2 separate regions of the Homo sapiens genome follow, and region 2 is linked to region 1. Evidence: promoter capture Hi-C in 16 types of primary human blood cells and fetal thymus (Javierre and others, 2016). All regions are on one chromosome and are shown on one strand. Each heading gives the region's core, a stretch centred on a gene start or on the middle of the fragment in contact. The rest is flanking DNA. Distances are from core to core; before and after follow the strand shown. Region 1 holds the start of HDHD3 (haloacid dehalogenase like hydrolase domain containing 3). Region 2 overlaps RGS3 (regulator of G protein signaling 3).

What was found. The method cuts DNA at HindIII sites, captures the fragments that hold promoters and counts their contacts. A CHiCAGO score of 5 or more calls a contact.
Region 2: a contact is called between a fragment that was not itself captured here and the fragment with the promoter of HDHD3 in region 1, in 1 of 17 cell types (erythroblasts). The highest score is 5.7, in erythroblasts.

Annotation. Positions count from the first base shown.
Region 1 is chr9:113,375,736-113,379,184 of GRCh38, reverse strand. HDHD3 (haloacid dehalogenase like hydrolase domain containing 3) reads left to right here and starts at 2,199. Exons shown (of 3, transcript NM_001304509.2): 1 at 2,199-2,456. RefSeq lists a silencer at 1,828-2,347. The HindIII fragment of the contact is 9,890 bases long and covers 369-3,449 here.
Region 2 is chr9:113,577,695-113,581,143 of GRCh38, reverse strand. All of the region lies in intron 17 of RGS3 (regulator of G protein signaling 3), which reads right to left. Among named protein-coding and RNA genes, the nearest start is that of RGS3, 120 kb to the right of the region's middle. RefSeq lists an enhancer at 1,934-2,023. The HindIII fragment of the contact is 1,505 bases long and covers 713-2,217 here.

The DNA.
Region 1 (3,449 bases), core at 950-3,449:
CGCCGGTCTCCTGGGCCCACTGTTCTTTCTCCATACTTTGTCTCGGTGTCTTATTTCTTTTCTCAGTCTCTCGTCCCACCTGATGAGAAATACCCACAGGTGTGGAGGGGCAGGCCACCCCTTCACATGTAGAAACAGGATTGCACAAAACGCTAATAGACTGAATAGAGAAACCCACCAAGACCCATCTGTGTAGATTCTTCTTGGCCTCTCTGTGCAGTGTTCCTTCCTCCAGGGTATGCGGCAAGACCCTCTCAAAGGGGCCTGGGTGGTGGGGGCTGTCTTATGACCTGTCTTGCCTAAGGTCATAGTGCAAGGTGATGAGACTAAAGAGGAACAGAGCACAGGCACAGAAGTATCTCAAAGCTTCCCCTCCGGTACCTCCCCAGCCTCTTTGGCCCAAACCCCCTGGCTAGCAACATTCCTATAGTTCCTCAGTGTCTCTTTGGTTCGGAAAAAAAACTTTCTTGCCTGGAGGCCTTTGCATCAGGGGGTCCCTTAACCATCACTCAGATCCTTCCCCTCTGCATGGCCAACTCTCATATGTTTGTATTTTTTAGTTTTTTGAGACTAACATGCATTACATGCATACCTTATTTATTTATTATTTTTTTATTTTTTTATTTTTTTGAGATGGAGTTTTGCTCTTGTTACCCAGGCTGGAATACAGTAGCCTGATCTTGGCTCACTGCAACCTCCACCTCCCCGGTTCAAGCGATTCTCCTTCCTCAGCCTCCCAAGTAGCTGGGAATACAGGCATGAACCACCTCGCCTAATTTTGTATTTTTAGTAGAGACGGGGTTTCACCGTGTTGGCCAGGCTAGTCTTGAACTCCTGACCTCAGGTGATCCACCCACCTCAGCCTCCCAAAGTGCTGGCATTACAGGCGTGAGCCACCGCGCCCAGCCAACATACATTACTTTTGCAAACAAAGATAAAACTCTTTTTTTATTCTTCAAAAGAATAAAAAAGCTCCCTGGTGGTCTAGTGGTTAGGATTCCAGGCTCTTACCACAGGGATCTTTTTTTTTTTTTTTTTTTTTGGGGACACAGTCTCGCTCTTTGCCCAGGCAAATATTGTGCAGTGGCAGAATCTTGGCTCACTGTAAGCTCCGCCTCCCGGGTTCATGCCATTCTCCTGCCTCAGCCTCCCGAGTAGCTGGGACTACAGGCACCTGCCACCATGCCCGGCTAATTTTTTGTATTTTTAGCAGAGACAGGGTTTCACCGTGTTAGCCAGGATGGTACCACAGGGTTCTTAAAAACAAAAAGAGGCCAGGTGCGGTGGCTCATGCCTGTAATCCCAGCACTTTGGGAGGCTGAGGTGGGCGGATCACCTGAGGTCAGGAGTTCAAGACTAGCCAGGCCAACACGGCGAAACCCTGTCTCTACTAAAAATACAAAAATTAGTTGGGTGTGGTGGCACACACCTGTAATCCCAGCTACTGGGGAGTCTGAGGCAGGAGAATCGCAAGAAACTGGGAGGCGGGGGTTGCAGTGGGCTATCGCGCCACTGCACTCCAGCCTGAGCGACAGAGGGAGACTCCGTCTCAAAAAAAAAAAAAGAGAAAGAATAAAAAAGCAGGTTACTGCAGCGGACTCTACCCTCACCAAGTTATCTTGGATTTAACAAGTTTCCAACTGAAAGCAATTCCCTCCAATACCAACTGGGGACCCTGAGACCAGAGAGGGGCTGGGCCTTGCCCAGGTTCACACAACACTAAGCAAGCCAGGCTGGGTCCCAACTCCCCTCCTCCCACTCAACCTGGGTACTTCTCGGGGGTTTCCCGATCCAAAGGAGGCCAGGAGCCGGGGTTGGGGATGGGGAGCGGAGACAGCGGTGAGGAGCGGCGGTGTGGCGGGCAGGGGGTGCGCAGACAGGGCGGAGAAGGTGCTGGTAACGGGGGCTGCGGAGCGGAAGGGTGCGGGCTGGGGAACCTCAGAGGGTGCGGGGAGGGAATAAGGGGCGTAGATGGTGCAGGGTAACGGAGGCGCGCAGTGAAGGCGGGTGACAGGGGCGCAGAGAGGTGCACAGTGAGACGAAGGAGGGAGAGGGGACGGCGAGGGCGACGGGAGATGGGGCGGGAGAGGGCGAAGGTGAGGGGGATAAGGGCGGGGACGGGGCGGGGACAGAGGCGGGTCGGGATGGTAGGGAGGGGCGGCCCGCGCGATCCCCGCCCCACCGCCCGGCGCTTGCGCACCTCCGCCCGAGCTCGCGGGCCTTGCGGCTGCGTTTTCAATCTGCTTCCTTGTGAGTCAGGTGGGTCCTGGGCCCAGGAACCGGCCCGGAGCCGTGGACGCCCTACAGCTGAGAAGGGGACCCAAGGGGTCGGCCGCGGCCAAGGCCCCTAGGACCGCCGCCCCAGCTCACGCTGCCGACGGCAGCTATAGACATTCTGCGTCAGGTCCGGGCTCCTGGACTTCGCCTTTCCCGAGCCCTGGAGGTGGGGAGAAAAGGTGAGCAGTTCGTGCCTGCAGCGCAGAGCCCCAAACCCGCGGTTTTAGAAATCGAAAAAGCCCTGCCGGGCGCGGTGGCTCACGCCTTTACCGTAATCCCAGCACTTTGGGAGGCCGGGGGGCGGGGTGGGGCGGGGGAGGATCACGAGTTCGGGAGTTCGAGACCAGCCTGGCTAACATAGTTGAAACCCCGTCTCCACTAAAAATACAAAAATTAGCCAGGTGTGGTGGCGCGCGCCTGTAGTCCCAGCTACTCTGGAGGCTAAGGAAGGAGAATCGCTTGAATCCGGGAGGCGGAAGTTGCAGTGAGCCGAGATCGCACCACTGTACACCTGGGTGACAGAGTGAGACTCTGTCTCAAAAAAAAAAAAAAAGAAAAAAAGCCGGCCGGGTATAGTGGCTCACGCCTGTAATCCTAACACTTTGGGAGGCTGAGGTCGGGAGTTCGAGACCAGCCTGGCCAACATGGAGAAACCCCGTCTCTACTAAAAATACAAAAAAAAAAGGAGCCGGGGATGGTGGCGCATGCCTGTAATCCCAGCTACTTGGGAGGCTGAGGCAGGAGAATCGCTTGAACCTGGGAGGCGGAGGTTGCAGTGAGCCGAGATCGCGCCATTGCACTTCAGCCTGGGCAACAAGAACGAAACTCCGCCTCAAAAAAAAAAAAAAAAAAAAAAAAAAGCCGTGGGTCAGGAGCCAGAGCCCTCTGCTCTAGTCTTAGCTGTGCCAATGTGACTCCCTGTGTGATTTGGGGGTAAATTACTGCCCCTCACTGGGTCTCTGTCTACCCACCTGCAAAATGAGAGGATCTTTGGATGAGTCTCCTTAATTCATTTCCTGGACAAACTTCCTCCAAGGCTCCCCCAGATTTACCAGTGACGCCCTTCCCTAAGTATCAACTTAGCCGTACTTTGAACTCTGGCCCCTCAGGTTTCAAGGGGACGGCCTTGTCTGGGATCAGCTCTGTCTGGGGAAAGAAGCTGCACCAGCCTC
Region 2 (3,449 bases), core at 216-2,715, 200 kb before region 1:
TCGCCCCACCCACCAGGGAGCATTCTCCATCAGGAGAAACAAACTGCCCTGCAGCCAGCTCCCTGGGGCCCCTCAGTCCTATCACCCTACCACATGGCCAGACCTCCCCCCGACCCACCCCCTGGCCCAGCCACCTGCCTCTGATAGTCCTTGGGGAAAGACGGAAGGAAGCAGCAACCGGGTGCCCTCAGGGCCTGGCACGGAGTGGCACAGAGTGGCACTGAGTGGGGAGCGGGCCGCATTTCCCCTTTCCTGGGTGGTGAGGGTGGGGCCCAGGCCTGTCCCAGTGGTGACTGTCAGTCAGAGCCCGCCCACCCCTTGGGGAAAGTGCAGCAACAAACCCAAAACCAGAAATGCAAGTCAGCCTGCCTCTGCCAACCCTGTTCTAAATCGAGGCCAAACCAAACAAAGCCAGGAGGGGAAGTGCCACTCAGGCAGGGGTACTGCCCCCAGAGGGCACCTACCCAGAGAGATCAGCCGAGAAACTAACCAAGATGGAAGGGTTCTCAGAGGGCCCAGTGGTTATGTGCTCAGATACCCGAGCCAGGCTGATTTTGATCCCAATGGGGCCACTTTTTAGCTGTGCAACTCTGGCCAAGCCTCTCAACACCTCAGAGCCTCCGTTTCCTCATCTGGAATTGAGCCCAGTGATATCATACTGGACTCACAGGACTATTTGAGTCTCCTCACAGTGCCTGGCCCTGGAAAAGCTTTTGATACAATGGGAGCTATCAGTGGTCTTATTTTAGAGATAAGAAACCTGGGGTCCCAGAGGGTAAAGGAATTACCTAAGAATGAGAGGCTGATGCAGGATTAGAACTCATATCTCCTGCCCAGGGTCTCTCCCTGTTTCCTTGGAGCCTTACACACAAGTGTTTGGGGACCTCAGAGGGCTGTAGAAGGAGGAGGAACAGCCTGGAGTGCTGCCTGAGGCCCCGCACCTGGGTGCATCCCACATCAGCAGATGCTGGCGAACAGGGCCCAGAGCTCATGGTTCTTTCTGTGCTCCCAGGCAGGTCTGTATGAACAGGGACTGCGTGCAGGTTTGGTAAGGCCCCTGTTCTTGGGAGAGCTGGGGTGGGAAGTGGTTTGACGGGAGCTCCGGAGCAATTATAGGAAACCCGAGAAACCCAGGGGTGGGAGGGTGGCAAGTGTAGGAGAAAATTAGGGCAGGAGGGGAGGCAAAGATGAGGGGGAGGTTGCAGAACACATGGTGGGCATGGGATTTGCCCTGTGAGCAACGAAATGCCACAGGCAGAGCTGTGCTGTGTCAAAGCTGCTCTGGGGAATGTGGGCAGGATGTGTGGATGGCAGGGAGGACTGGGGCACGCATACATTCATGCATTCTCCAAGCACTGAGGTAGGTACTAGGAGGACGGCAGGGAACAAGTCAGACACAATCTCTGCCCTCAGTTAAGTAGAAAAAACAGAGGTTAGACAACTAGTTTGAAGGAGCATGGGGACTGCTCTGATAGAGGAAGTACAGGCAGCTGGGGACCCAGTGAGACAGCTGTTGCAACAGCTGAAGTAACAAGAATCCAGCCAGGGCGCCCCAGGAAGACCAGCTTGCTCACCCAGGGCCTTGGGTCTAGAGTGCTGGAAGCCACTGCCCCACCCTCCCAAGGTGGGGGTCTGTGTCTTTCCCATCCATCACTTCTTTGGCTTGGCTGGACCAGGTTAATTCTGCCCATGTCTCATCTGCTGTAAGCACACAGGAAATGAACCAGGCCCTCTAAATGGAGTCACTGTTTAGGACCTAATCAAATCCTCTCCCAAATCCAATCCAGAGCTCAGAATAGGCTAAGGAGGGATGGCAGCTATGACACCCAGAGTTCACACTCATACCAGCTTTGGCTCCTGGGCCCCAGATGCCCACCGGATGTTGGGTTGAGGGTAGTGGTGGGCTGCTGAAAGTGACTTGTCCAACATCACACAGCTACTCACTGAGCAGCCAGGTTTGCTGACCCAGGGACAACCTGCAGCTCTCACTCCGATGATTCATCACAGCCACCACGGATGCCGGGCTCTGCATCTGCCCTCGAAAACCACTTCCTGCACTGGGGGGGTGTAAACTGGGGTTTGCCTCTGTCTCAGGGTGGCCCTTAACAGCCAGGATTTTACTGACAGAGCACTGGACATGCAGCCAGAAGACCTGGACTGGAATCTTCACTCCATCATTTGCTAGCTGTGTGATCCCAAGCTACCCCACTCCAAGCTTGGTTTTCTCTGCCATGAAAGTGGGTGAGGATGCCTGCTGCTTCCTGTGCCAGAGACCTAAGGGGACCAAGTGAGAAAGGGCAGGAAGGCACTCTGTGAACTGTAAAGTCCTTTGAGAAAGGGAGAGGCTGTTAGAATTCCTGCCCTGCCTTGGACCCCCAGGCTTTCAAGATGGGCTGTTCCTTCAAGCTTGGCATGCTCTGGATCCCTAGCCTCAGGTCCCTGACTCAATGCTAGCTTCCAGGAACCTTGATGGCTCAGCTAACACTTAGCTCTCCTGGCTCAGCGTCAGCCCAGCTCCTCCAGGTCTGGCCTCTTGACCACCCAGAGGCTGACACCCCCAGTCCTTCCTCCGCCACCAGCTCAGAGACCCTCCAGGCCATACTCCTCTCCCCTCTACCTCCACTGTCTCCAACACAGCAGGTTTGGCAAAATTCAGGAGGATGGAGGCGGTACTTACATTAGGGGGAGCTCCAGATACTAACTTCACACTTACTTGCTGGGTGACCTTTGGCTTAACCTTTCTGTGCCTCAGTTTCCTTAGCCATAACATAGGATTTCTAGAATCTCCTCACAATGTTGTTAGAGGAATAAATGAGCTAATGAGTATCCAGAGCTCAGCACCATGAGGGCACCCATGAGCACTCAATAAACGATAGCCATGGTCACTCCAGCACAGCGTGGCCTTAACATCTCCCTCCCTGAATTTCACCCCTTCTCCACCCTCTCATGGGCCTGTCTGCCTGTCCATCAGGACCTGCTGCAGGGCCCCTCTCATCACAGTCCTGTCCACTCCCTTGGGAACCCACCCACTCCCCAGGCCACAATCGCTATCTGCACCATCTGGCCACTGATGACTCGCAGTCCACTCTGCCAGCCCTGACCGCTTTCCTGAGTTGAGATGCCACAGGCAAGTATTCAACAAATCCTCATGGAATAGTTCTGCATCCAGACACTGTTCTAGGCTCTGTGCATAAAGGAAGGAATAAGAAAGACATGATCCTTGTCCTTGTGGAGCCTACGAACTAGAGAGGAAGGAGGGATATTGACCAAGTCATCACTGCCATAAACACAGGATAAACAGAAACCAAGATCTGCAGTGTGAAGGAAAACCCTCGGGTGCTGTGAGAGAGTCCAGGGGAGTGTTGGGAAGGCCGCCCTGTGGAATGGCTGGAGACCGAAATCTGCTCAAGGGGCAGGGCGGGGCTCACTAGGGGAGGAAGCAGCATAGG